Linked DNA regions of Homo sapiens: regions 1 and 2 are each linked to region 3. Evidence: promoter capture Hi-C in human tissues and cell types (Jung and others, 2019). All regions are on one chromosome and are shown on one strand. The core of a region is centred on a gene start or on the middle of the fragment in contact, and the rest is flanking DNA. Distances in the headings are between cores, read along the strand shown. Region 1 overlaps SRMS (src-related kinase lacking C-terminal regulatory tyrosine and N-terminal myristylation sites). Region 2 holds the start of EEF1A2 (eukaryotic translation elongation factor 1 alpha 2). Region 3 holds the start of NPBWR2 (neuropeptides B and W receptor 2).

What was found. The method cuts DNA at HindIII sites, captures the fragments that hold promoters and counts their contacts. A contact is called where the count stands out against the background at its distance.
Region 1: a fragment that was not itself captured here is called in contact with the fragment with the promoter of NPBWR2 in region 3 in 1 of the 25 tissues and cell types used here (lymphoblastoid cells).
Region 2: the fragment with the promoter of EEF1A2 here is called in contact with the fragment with the promoter of NPBWR2 in region 3 in 4 of the 25 tissues and cell types used here (IMR-90 fibroblasts, aorta, lymphoblastoid cells and 1 more).

The regions. Positions count from the first base shown.
Region 1 is chr20:63,540,430-63,544,376 of GRCh38, forward strand. SRMS (src-related kinase lacking C-terminal regulatory tyrosine and N-terminal myristylation sites) reads right to left here. Exons shown (of 8, transcript NM_080823.4): 2 at 3,798-3,919; 3 at 2,885-3,051; 4 at 2,011-2,152; 5 at 1,734-1,892; 6 at 1,010-1,191; 7 at 762-918; 8 at 1-570. The coding sequence ends at 389. Among named protein-coding and RNA genes, the nearest start is that of PTK6, 5.0 kb to the left of the region's middle. RefSeq lists a silencer at 2,220-2,279 and enhancers at 2,570-2,719, 3,667-3,947. The HindIII fragment of the contact is 9,150 bases long and covers 1-3,947 here.
Region 2 is chr20:63,496,371-63,500,640 of GRCh38, forward strand. EEF1A2 (eukaryotic translation elongation factor 1 alpha 2) reads right to left here and starts at 2,713. Exons shown (of 8, transcript NM_001958.5): 1 at 2,688-2,713; 2 at 1,250-1,464. The coding sequence starts at 1,393. It overlaps LOC124904955 (a long non-coding RNA gene), which reads left to right and starts at 1,912. Exons shown (of 2, transcript XR_007067719.1): 1 at 1,912-2,253. RefSeq lists enhancers at 1-129, 927-1,096, 1,722-2,517, 2,778-3,347. The HindIII fragment of the contact is 29,943 bases long and covers 1-4,270 here.
Region 3 is chr20:64,105,793-64,110,037 of GRCh38, forward strand. NPBWR2 (neuropeptides B and W receptor 2) reads right to left here and starts at 1,773. Exons shown (of 2, transcript NM_005286.4): 1 at 1,572-1,773; 2 at 1-1,130. The coding sequence starts at 1,039. The coding sequence ends at 38. RefSeq lists an enhancer at 1,321-1,821 and a silencer at 3,805-3,988. The HindIII fragment of the contact is 24,186 bases long and covers 1-4,245 here.

The DNA.
Region 1 (3,947 bases), core at 1,064-3,563, 560 kb before region 3:
TTCTACCCACCCTCCTGTGCCGTTGTCTCTCTTGAGAGGCCAGGGACACGTGTCACACTGCACGGGGAACGTCAGCCCCAGCCCTCCGTCTGCACGAGTCACACTGCACGGGGAACGTCAGCCCCAGCCCTTCGTCTGCACGAGTCACACTGCATGGGGGACGTCAGCCCCAGCCCTCCGTCTGCACGAGTCACACTGCACGGGGGACGTCAGCCCCAGCCCTCCGTCTGCACGTCTGCCTGGTGCACGAACATGTGTGCACGCCAGGGCCTGAGGCCCACAGCCAGAGGCTCCTCGGTCCGGCAGACCGGCATCCCTTCGAGTTGGCGCTCTGCAGGGAGGAGGGGCTGGCCTGGCTGGAGCCCAGAGCGTTGGGTCACGTGAGGACTCAGGGGTGGCATCTGTGGATGGCGTGCAGCTTCTCCCGCAGCGTGGCGAAGGAGGGCCGTTCCTCGGGGCTGCTCCTCCAGCACTCCAGCATGAGCACGTAGACCTCCGCCGGGCAGGCAGCCGGGCGCGGCAGCCGGTACCCTCGCATGATCTGCTGCAGCGTCTCGTGGTTGGTCATCCCTGGGAGGCGCGGGGCAAGAGCTGCCTCGATTCTGCCTGGGGGTCCCTATGGAGGAGGCCTCCTGTAGCCCCCCATGTCATCTGCCTGCCCTTGGCCAGACCCTCCAACCCCTTGCCGACAGCGTCCAGGCCCGGGGCCAGTGACTCCTGGGCAGAGCCTGCATCCTCCCTCTGGCTGCCTGGGGACCCACCTTCATAGGGACACTGGCCATAGGTGAAAACCTCGTGCAGCAGGACGCCGAAGGACCAGACGTCTGACTTCTGGGAGAAGACACGATAATTGGCCGCCTCAGGCGCTGTCCACTTGACCGGGATCTTGGAGCTGCTGCTCGGGGAGTAGATGTCGTCCTGGGGGCGAGGGAAGGCCCCTGGTAGGGCAGGTGGACCGGGGTCCCCTCACCCACCCCCTCTGGGTCAGGGGCCCAGAGCCTCCGCTGACCTTGAGCAGCCGGGCCAGGCCGAAGTCAGCCACCTTGCAGGCCAGGCCGTCGTCCACGAGCACGTTCCGGGCGGCCAAGTCCCGGTGCACAACGCGCTGCTCCTCCAGGTAGCTCATGCCCTCAGCCACCTGGCAGGCAAAGCCCAGGAGTGGCGGCAGACGCAGGGCCCGGCCCTCGGGGGCTGCAGGAGACAGCGCGGGGTCTTTTAGGGCACGGGGCCAACGGCCGGTGAGGCCAGCGTCCACCCACGTCACCTTCCCCCATGCCTCAGCCTCCTCATCTCTAAGACGTGGCGAGGATGGCATGGCCGGCTAAGGCCACGGGAAGCCCCAAGTGAGACAGGGCGAGGGTCCTGTACTCACCACAGTGACCCGGCAGCCGGCCCAGGCCCCCGACAAAGACCAGGGCAGAGAAGAGCCAGAGGCTGGGCTGGGTCTATGTCACATTAGACCAAGGCTGGTGACCCAGATGGGACCGCGCCCCCCACCGCCCCCGAACACCAGCTCCAGCCCCGGAGCCACAAGGCTCTGGCCTGGCCCAGACCTGACGCCAGCCCCCTGTTGGCTGGAGACCAGACAGGGATGGGATCTGCAGCCGGGGCCACCTGCTCCCGGTAGAGAGGCCCGGTTCACCTCGGAAACCCCGCAGGTTCAGCTCTGCGCCAGGAGGGAAGGGGCGGTCGCAGGCGCGTCAGGGCCACGTGGCAGCAGGGAGGGGACTCACTGCCCAGGAAGGCCTGCAGGTTCCCCTTGCGCATGAGTTCCGTGACGATGTACACAGGCTCCCCGCCCGAGCACACTGCGTGCAGCCGGATGAGCCGCTCGTGCCGCAGGCCCTTCAGTGTCTGGATCTCCTTGGCGAGGTCAGTGAGCTTCATGTTGGCTGCGAGAGAGGGTGTGGCTCCAGGACCGGCCCACGCCACGAACATCACTGCCCTGGGGCTTGAGGGTTGGACAGCAGGTGCGGGGCCCGGCCGTGGCGCAGGATCTCGGGGCCTCACCTGACTTGATGACCTTGATCGCCACGGGCAGGGAGCCCAGCCACAGGCCTTCCCACACCTCCCCAAAGTAGCCTTCACCCAGCTTCCTCCCAAGGGCGAATTCGGAGTGTGGCCGCTCCCACACGTCCTGCCTCGGGGCCTTCTGCAGGGAGGGTGGGCAGGGAGGCTGGTCAGCGTGGGCCCCTGTGCTCTGTCCCAGGCACAGCCCCCCACACCAGGCCTCTGGCGGGCACCCCTGTCCCCAGCACACACTCACCCCACCCTGGCTGGGACAAAGGGGAGTGGGTGCCAGGCTTGGAGGCCCGGCCCAGCCCCGTGGGAGCTCATTGCTCTGGGGGCCTAAGTGGCACCTTTGCCCCAGCCGGATATCCGTCTACACATGCTCATTACTGCCCCTGGCCGCGCTGTCATTATGAGACCAGAGAAACCAGACTGCTGCCCTGGCCCTCGGCAGGGTGGCTCACATCGGGGACAGTCCCCGGGATCCAGTGTCTCCAGCCCAGGTGCAGCATCTTGTGATCTGCCTCTCCTCCCACACCTTCCGCCCTTGGGGCCTGGGGCAGCCTTGAGTGCCTTCCCCAAACTGGCCCCACCCTCCTGGCTGCTCCCCTGCAGAGCTGGGCACTGCTACAGGTCTCCTTTCCCCACTCCCAGCCCCCTAGGACCCCAGGAATCCCAACAACCCTCAGAGGCACCCGCAGAGAGCAGAATGTGCTGGAACCGCTGGGATGCTCCGATGCTCCCAGGCCTGGGCAGGGCCCTGGAGCTGCGCCTCTGACAGCCCCAGGGGTTTTGTGACGGGGTGGGGAGGAGCACCTAGAACAGGGCCATGCCTCGGGCCCAGCATGGGGCAGCTTGGCAGGCACAGGCCCACCTGGGGCATGCAGGGCTGCAGCAGGGGGTTCTGGATCAGCTTCCAGTTGGCCTTGTAGTAGGTGAGCAGCTCCTCCAGGCCGGGAAAGAGCCGTCCCTTCTGCAGGTAGAGGCTGCCATCAGCTGCCATGGAGACCCGGTAGTGGCAGACCTTGGCCTGGGCCCGGACTAGGAAGGGTTCAGAGATGGAGACCCCTGCCTTGGCTGCCAGCTGCCCCGACCCTCCCACCCCAGAGGATGCTGGCCACAACCCACTAAGGGGTCTGGCTCAGACCTAGCTGGGGACCCTGAGATGGTCAGAGCTGTGTGGAGGAGGGAGTGTGGGCAGCCACAGGCTGGGGCGGGGCAGCGAGAGCGGCCCAGGTTGGAGCTTTTCTGCTGACGGTGTGCACAGAGTAGGCACTTAATAAATACTTGTAGAATGAATGAGTCCATGAGTCAGTGAATGAATGAAGGAATAAGGAAGGAAAGAAGGAAAAGTGAATGAATGAATGAACGAATAAGCAAATGAGTGAAAGAATAAGCTAGTGAACAAATCAGTGAATAAATGAGTGAATTAGTGAGTGACGAATGAACGAGTGAATGAGTGGATGAATGGATGAATGAATGAGTGAATTAGTGAGTGAGGAATGAACGAGTGAATGAGATGAATGGATGAATGAATGAATGAGTGAATTAGTGAGGAATGAATGAACAAGTGAATGAGTGACTGAATGAATGAGTGGGTGAATGACTGAATGAATGAATAAATGGGTGAGTTAGCAAGTGCAGGAGGTGACCAGCATATCTGCTGTTGGGCCCTCAGTGGCGCCGGGTGTGAATCAGGAGCCAGCACTGCCTAGAGACCAACCACCCCAAGGTCAAGGGCCACTGACCTGGTGGGGGACAGAGGCAGGAGGGGCCGCCCCAGGTACCTGACAGTGAGTAGCCCCCGAGGCTGCTCTCGCTGGGCCGGATGAGGAAGGCCCCTGGTTCGTTGGGTGGGGAGAGGAGCAGCTGCTGTGCCTGGGTCCGACTGACCCCGCTAAAGTACCAGCTGCAAACAGCAGGTGCGGCAGTCACCT
Region 2 (4,270 bases), core at 1,463-3,962, 610 kb before region 3:
AAGCTGCGGACGCCCCCAGATCCCTTCCTCAACCAGAGGCCAATAATACCACCGTGTTTGGGGCTGTCAGATAAATAACCCTCTGTGTGTGTGTGTTTTTTTAAGGTAAGGAGAAAGGAAAACTGAATGAGGTCAGGAGGAGGGCCTGGCCACGCAGCTCCTTCCCGCTGCTCCAGCCTCCCCATCCCTCTGAGGCTTCTCCTCCCCTTCCTCGCTCTGCCGGACACGGGAAGCTGGGGGGCCTCGGCCAGTGAGACCCCCACAGAAGGGGACGGGCTTCAGTCAGGGCAGCAGCGGCGGTCACTACCCAGCTGGGCAGAACTCCTCGCCAGGGCCTCGCACAGACAGGACTCTGCCCTCCAGGAGGCTGCCCAGTCTGGAGCAGACCCAGATGGGACCCAGCTGGGGCCTGAAACAGCGGCCCTCTGAAACCCCCGCCTCCTCCTGACAAGGCCAGGTAAAGGGTGATGCAGCCCAAACTCAGGGGTGCAGCTCAGAGCACCCCCAACCCCGCCAGGGCAGAGGCTCAGCCCAGGACAGCGAGTGCCCCCACCTTGGGCCCTGGCCTCCGCCCTCATCATCCAGGTGAGAGCTCCCACAGGCCCTCCCAGGAGTGGGCTTCTCCCCAGAGTCCTGGGTGGGGGATGGGGATCAGAGAGCAGACCCCGTCTCATGACCGCTCCCCACCACCGTCTCAGCCACCAAAGAGAAATCGCTTCAAAAGGTCAGCTAGGAGGTCACCTCATCCAGGACCCCCACCCCAGGGCTGCCCTGGACAGCAGCCCTCCACAGCCCAGCACAAGAAAATGGAGCAGACGGGCCGGCTGCCCATCAATCAGCTATTAATAGTAGCGTGTGCCCTGGCAGGGCCCTAGGACAAGTGAGGGCAGTACCATCTCCAGCCCCAGCCTTGGCCCTGGGGGGAAGGGGGTAAGGCTCCAGCGCCCTCCAGCCCCAGCTCAACATGGCAGAGTTCCAGAGCCTTCTGCAGACCCTCCCAGGTCACCTCCCTCACCACAGGGCAAGTCCGGCAGCTCGATGGCCACCCCTCCCCCACCAAGCTCCCCCTAAGAGAGAGGCTGCCCCACCAGACCCTCTGAGGCCTGAGTGCCCCACAGCGGGGGTCCCTCCTGCCCTGGAGGAGGTCACCTGAGCCCCATGCCCTGGGGCTGGGAGATGCCAAGCCTGGCCACCACGGGAGTTGGGGGTTCCTTCTCAGGGGGCCAAGACCATAGCCTGGGGAGCTCACCTCAGCCGCCTCCTTCTCGAACTTCTCAATGGTCCTTTTGTCAATACCTCCGCATTTGTAGATGAGGTGGCCCGTGGTGGTGGACTTTCCGGAGTCCACGTGGCCGATGACCACGATGTTGATGTGGGTCTTCTCCTTGCCCATTTTGCTGGGAGTGTGAGGGGCTGGCGGGACCCGGGGTGCTCTGGCTCAGGGCGAGGGGGGCTGCAGTGATTCTGTGGGGCCAGTGGTGGTGGGGAGACCGGTGATGGGGAGCCCCAGGGGGAGACACCAGCAGAGACTGTCCTGGCACAGGCTGGACAGGCATCCCTGCCCACAAACCAAGCCCCCATGTTTGGTGGGGAGGGAAGGGCCCCCACCCACAGCTGGGCCTGGCCAGGGCAAGCAGAGGCTGTGCACTGCCCCCACCCCACACTTGAGCCCAAACAGCCCCATCTGCTGTAAATAACTGGGCGTTGGAGCCCGCGGGCTGCTCCTTGGGAAGGGGTTAGCCACCATTTGGAGAGACCACGCAGCGCCAGGCTGGGTACGTCCGTGACCAGCAGAGCCGGGTGATGAGTCACCTGCCCAGCGCTCCAGGGCCCTGTCCTGCACGCGCACTCCCCTCCCCGGCGGCAGGGCCAGGGACACGGCGCCCCACCCCCACCCGCTGCCACCGGGGAGAGATGGCCACTGCTCCCCACTCCCCTCCTCAGGCAGGGACGGCGCCATCTTCCCCTCATCCCTGCCCGGCAGGCTGGGCCAGAGCCCCGACGGAGATGCGCTGCCCAGATTAGGAACCCAGAATAGCTCTAGGCACCCCCCTCCCGGACTCTCACAGGGACAGACAGCGGCCGGGAGGTGGGGGTCCCTGTTCCAGCCTGAGGAAGGAGGACCCGGCCCTGCCGAGCCCAGCAAGTGCCAGGTGGAGATGCCCTCGGCCCCGTGGGGGTATAGGGGGCACCCTCCCTCCCCCCCTCCCTGTGACTCAGGACCCTGGGTCACAGCCCTGTCCCATCACAGAGGTCAGTGGAGAAACCCACGCTGCTCCTCGCGGACAGGTGGCTGGGGGAGGGAAAGAGGACAGAAGCCACCCTGGGGTGGGAACACGGGTGGGGGTGGGGAGGCCAGGGCCCCCAGATCTCACCACCTCCCTCAGCGTCCTCTGGCCCAGCGCCCCGAAGCCCGACCCCCATCAGCCCCCGGCCCGCAGGGTCCCCGCGGCCCCAAGGTCACGGCTACGGGGCGATCGCCGCCCAGGACCCGGCCCCGCCGCCCCGCGCCGCCCCCCACCCCGGGCCCAGCCCGGCCGACGCGGGGACCCCCGGAAGCCGGACTCCGGGCGCGCGCGGGGGCGGGTGCGGGGCCCGGCCACCCTCTGCCCCCCAGGACCGGCCCCGGGGGTCCCTCTTCGGAAGACGGGGGCGGGGGCGGAGGCCCGGGGGCCGAGCGTCCTTACCCGGAGCCGAGGTCTCAGCCAGAGGGACTGGCGGCGCCGGCGCCGGCGGTTTTATCTCCGGGAGGGGGTCCACCTATTGACGGTGGCGGCGCAGTGCACCGCGCCCTGCAGCACGCCAATGCGGAACCGCGCGGGAGGGGGCGGGGCGCGGACGCGCGCGGGCGGGCGCCACGGGGACGCGAGGCGATGCGGGAGGCGCGGGCTGCAAAGACGGACGCGGGAGGCGGGGGAGAAACGCGCCGCGGGCGGGGGCGGGGCGGGGGGCAGGGCAGGGAGGCGGCGGGAGGGAGGGACCGGGACGGAGACGGCGCGGGGAGAGCGCGGCGGGCCCGGGAGACGGGGCGAGAGCCGGCTCAGGGCAGGAACACGCTTGAGCCGCGAAAAGCGGTCCCCGGGGACAGGGCAGACGCCGAGGACCGGAGCCGGCAGGCGGGGGAGGGGAGCAGGTGGGCTGCAGCCTGGGAGACGAGCCTGGGTCTACCGGCCCCTCCCCGGCCCTGCTCATGGGGGACGCCCCAGAACCAACGAAGCCCGGCTCTGAGGGGCTCTCCCTAATGAGGCCCGGGGGTGCAGGCCTCAGGGTGGAAATCTGCTGGTTTCCAGTCCCTGTCCTCACGTGCCTGCCCTCCTGGGCGCACCATGACAGGCCCCGAGGATCCAGCGCAGAACCACCCTCCCCCTGAGAGGCTGGTCTCCCACGGTGCAGGGAACGCCGGAAGCCCGCTCCCAGACCCACTGACATCTTCCAGGGACCCTCCCCTCCGGGTGCGCCGACCTCCGGCTGCTGCTGGGAAACAGCGCCAGCCAAGGGCGAGTCAGATCCAGACAGACCCAGGCCCCCCCGCCCAGCGCCCCACCCCGCTGCACCTCAGCGCCTTGTAGCTGATGCTCATATGGGGTCAGGATGCCAAGCCAAAGACCGGGCCACGCTCTGTAGGAAGTGGGGAGTCCCTGAGGTCCTGGCACACGCGGGTAATGACCAACGTGGGTTGTGAGGAAGGGGATGTGGCAGCCATGTGTTGTGTGAAGACCAAGGTTAGGGGCTTTCTCCAGACCCCAAGATCCTGTCGTCTCACCCAGGTATTCAGGTCTTCCCTCCCACGCTGCCCCCCCACCCCCACGCACTCGGATCTTCCTGCCAGCGGGGTCTCGGGAGGTGTGTGCTGAGTGGGGGCAGAGCCCTGGCACCTGTCCTCTCAGCCCTGAGTTCCCACTGGGTGTTGACATGGAGGCCCCGGGTCGGGCCCAGCAGCTGCGACTGGGCAAATCCATGGGGATCCCCAGCGACTGGACCCCTACCTGGCCTGCTGGCAGGTGTGAGGAGGAAGGAAAGGTGGGGGCCCAGGGTCGGGGCCAAACAGTTCTCCCCAGCCTGTGGAGAGGGCCTCTCAGGAGGACCCTGGTCTGTGGCTGCGTCTGCCCCATAGGAGTCCAGGGACTTGGGCTCCTGGGCCACAGGCAGGAGAGGAGGCAGGGAGGGCCTGCTAGGTGCCCCGGCACTTCCGAGTGCTGCCGATGCCGTCAAACAGGAGCCAGGAATAAAAATAACCGCCTGGCAAGAAAGCAAGGCCCGCCCCACCCCA
Region 3 (4,245 bases), core at 523-3,022:
ATGGGCATGATGATGGGGGTGATGGTGCCCAGGCCCTTCAGCACCGCAATATGCTGCGGAAGTTCTTCCGGAAGTTGTCATCTAGAAAGGCGTAGAGGAAGGGGTTCAGGCACGAGTTGGCGTAGCTGAGGCTGGTGATGACGTAGGACATACTGATGACCAGTGGGGTCTGGGGCAGGTCCGTGGTCAGGGCCACGACAGAGGCCAGGTGGAAGGGCGTCCAGCAGAGGAGGCACACGGCCAGCACGACGAGGACCAGGACGGTCACCTTCCGCCTGGCCTTGCCTAGAGCCTTGGCTCCAGAGCGGAGCCGCACGGCCCGCAGCCTGCGCAGGAGGTCTGTGTAGAGCACACAGATGGTGCACACGGGCAGCACGAAGCCCAGGACCAACGTGTAGACACGGCTGGCCTTGAACCAGACCTGCTCGGGCCACGGGAAGCTCAGCCCACAGCTTGGGACCTGCAGCTCGTTGCTGTAGACGCCAGCGAAAGAGAAGAAGGGCAGAACCAGGACCGTGACGCCCAGCCAGACACACAGGCTGGCGACCTTCGCCCCCCGGTAGGTGCGCCAGGGCATGTGGCGGGACCTCACGGTGGCCAGCACCACCAGGTATCGGTCCACGCTCATCACGGCTAGGAAGTAGATGCTGGAGAAGATGTTGTAGTGGTCGACGGCCAGCACCAGCTTGCAGAGCAGCTCCCCGAAGGGCCAGTACTGCAGCAGGTGCTCCGCGATGTTGACGGGCAGTACCAGCGTGAAGAGCCCGTCGGCGACGGCCAGGTTCAGGATGAACACGTTGGTCACCGTCTTCATCTTGGGCGCCCTTAGGATTACAAGGATGACGGCCGTGTTGCCAGTCAGCCCCACAGCACAGATCCCGGAGTACACGGCGGGCAGGAGCACATAGAGGAACGGCAGTGGCTCGGAGAAGGTGGCATTGTGGCCAGTGCCATTGTCCTGAGAGACGTTGGCACCCATCGTGGGGAGGGAGAAGGAGCCCCTGCTGTCAAGGGGCTCTGGGTGCCCAGCGGCCTGCATTGTAGCTGGGACCGTTGACGATTTGCGCCCTGGGCAGGTGGGAGGTGCCTTGGAGTTGGGTATCTGGTTGGGGGCCTCCTTGGGCTGGATTCTAGGAAAGAAAAACAACCAGAGACTTTGAGATCCGGCCGTCTGTTAGGGCACAGCCACTCCAGGTTCTCTGGCAGAGACTGCGGCCACTTTGCCAGGTCAAGGACATGGGGCCAGAGGGAGCCTGGTGGGGTGTGTGGGGGCCTCCTCCCGCCTCTTCCTGGTGAGACTTCAGCAGATCAGTTCCCTCCTCCCGCAGAGAGCAGCTGCTGGCCACCCTCCTGGGAAGAGATGTGGATCCGTCCCTGCCCCAGCAACCCGCAGATGCACGGGCTGCGTAGAATCAAGCGGTCCCTTTGGAAACACACCTCCCAAGCTCATCTCTGGCTCCCTTGAATCTGAAGGTCCTTCCCTCAGGGGTCTTGGAGTCTGCACCCTCCCTCACACCCTCCCGAGAGATGCTGCAGACCCTGCTGGTCCAGCTACTCTTCTCTCCACTGACCTGTCCAGTGCTTCGAGTCCAGAAGTTGGTAGCCTTGGTGTGTTCCTGGTTTTGGCCAGTACAGGCAGTCGCAGGGATGGAGGGCGAGGTGTGGTCCTCACTGACAGACCTCCAGCTGAGGTTTCAGGAGTTTCAAGACCTGCCCTGCTGGCTGCCTCAGCCCCGGCTGCGAGGTTCCCAGCCTGGTGTCAGTGCTGATGCTGGTGAGGGAGGGAGGCGGATCCCCCTTGCTGACGTGGAGCCCGGAAGGCAGGCCCCACCTTCCCCTGAGCTGCAGTAGCGCCTGCAGTCGGCTGTCCCAGGGTCTCCTCAGCATTCACTTACCCAGGCAGACTCCTCAGTGGGCGGCTGAGGCACGTGTGCGCCTGTGTGTCAGGAAGGGACTCCATGCAGGGGCCTCTGGGTGTGCCCAGGTCTTCGGGCAGAGGGCACTGAAGGCATCTGTGCCTCTGTCCGGGAGTCACTGTGGGCCTGGGCACCCTTATCTGTGAACATGGGTGTCTTGGTGGGTCTCCTGCCCCACCCTGTGTGTGTACATGGTGTGTTCCTGTGTGTGTGTGCCAGTTAGGACATGTACGTGTGTGGGCCTGTGTCTGCCTGTATGGGGGTCTCTGTGGGTGAGCTCTGCGTTGTATCTGAGTGGGTCTACATGTCCTTGGCTGAGTGTGGGCATCTGGGGGGTCTGTATGCCCTCATGTGGAAGCAGAACTTGTTGGCCATAGGCAACCCACCTTCTTTTTTTGTCTTTTGCTAAAAGAGGAACTCAGCCTAGGCAAGCTGTGAAAGGCTGCAGAGAAGACGTTCTCACGCTGACACGTAACTCTCCCGCCGTCCTGCAGAGGTGGTGAGCATCACACTCTGCTCTGGGTTGGTCTTTAAGTCCTTCCCTTCTCCCTGCTTTTCTTCCTTGCTGGACGCACCCTGGCTTATCCAACCCGTGTGTGTGCAGCTCGGCCGCATCTGGACCTGCTTTGCAGGCAACGCCACAGCTGACACGAGCAGTCGCCAGTCTCAGAGCCGCTCCTCAGCGGAGACGTGTTGGGTCAGAGGGTCTGTGTTTTCTTTCCTTTCTTCTTTTTTGAGACAGGGTCTTGCCCTGTCACCCAGGCTGGGGTGCAGTGGCACTATCATGGCTCACTGCAGCCCTGACCTCCCTGGGCTCAGGTGATCCTCCCACCTCAGCCTCTCAAGTAGCTGGGACTACAGGCATGTGCCACCATGCCTGGCTAATTTTTGTGTTTTTTTTTGTAGAGACGGGGTTTCACCATGTTGCCCAGGCTGGTCTCGATCTCCTGAGCTTCAGCCTCTACCTCAGCCTCCCAAAGTGCTCAGGTTATAGCCATGACCCACCGTGCCTGGTCACTGTGTGTTTTCAGTCTGGGGAGATGTGTCTGCCCATCGAGACTGTGCCCGCTGCCTGTGGGGTTGCAAGGATGTCACCGCACACTCATGGTCGGCCTTCTTTCCTGAGAGTTGCTCTGTCAAGTCTATTGGTTAGGACAGGAGCCTGGGCAGTCGCCCTGAGTACCCTGATGTCGCCAGCCTGAGGGTACACTGTGGGTGGGCCCCGAGCTACCCTTCTATGGGCTGTGCCATGTGGATGTTGAGTCCGGGGTCAGGGAACCCTGCTGAGATATCTCACACTCCTCTTCAGCCAGTTTGGGGATGGCGGTGGGGGGGATCTGTGGGTGTGTCTCGAGGGAGCGTGGGGCTTGTAGCCACAGTTTGTCACATAAGTGGAGCTTGACGCCCACAAGGTCAGGGGATGGTGATTAGCAGCCGTGAGGAGAGGGTGCATTGGGGCTGAATTTTGTGATTTGGGGTGTTCGTGGGGTCGGGAGGGGTCAGTTCACAGCTCCTGGAAACCAGAGGCGTGACACAGAGAGGCCAGGCCTGGCATGTGGTGGCCCAGGCATTGACCAGGGTGTGGGCTGGGCCAGGCGGTCACTGGTCTTGGCTGGGGAGCGGCCGACCATGGCCTCAGCACCGGGCACTGGGAGAATGTCCCAGGCCTGCTGTCACCGAGCTGCTGTCCTGGGGTGGGGCTGGCCACGCTGGCCTGATTCTGGGCCTCCCTGGGGGCCTGCTGTCACCGAGCTGCTGTCCTGGGGTGGGGCTGGCCACACTGCCTGACTCTGGGCCTCCCTGGGGGCATTGCTGGGGGCCTCTCCCTTCCATGCATTTTGGGAGGGGCCCAGGCTAGTGCCGGTGCCTTCCTCTGCCCCCCAGGGCTGGCTGGCAGCCTGCCCAGTGACCCCCGTGTGGCCTGAGCTCTGGGCACCCCTGCTGGTCTTTGCCCTGCAGGATACCGACTGCCACCCACACCTTCTTCAGAGCAGGGTGTTCCAGGAGGGTCTTCCCTTAAGCCTCAGTAGTGGGGAGCCCAGTGTCAGAGGCATCCCTCAGAGCACAGAATCTTCCCATGCAAAGATCCCACTGTGTGTCTGGCTTCCTCTGAAGCCAACCACGAGTCTGGGTCCTCTTCCCTCCACCGGTATCTGGTGAGTCTGGGAATCGGAGCCCCTCCCAGACTCTAGCTCTGCTCTCCTGAGCCTGTCCTGAAGGCTGGTCTGGCACCACCGCCCGCCGGTCACATTGGAGGTGGGGTGCGCATGATGGAAGGGATGGGGACCCTGAGGGCAGTGGGGATGGGGGAGACTGCCAGGTGCTGAGC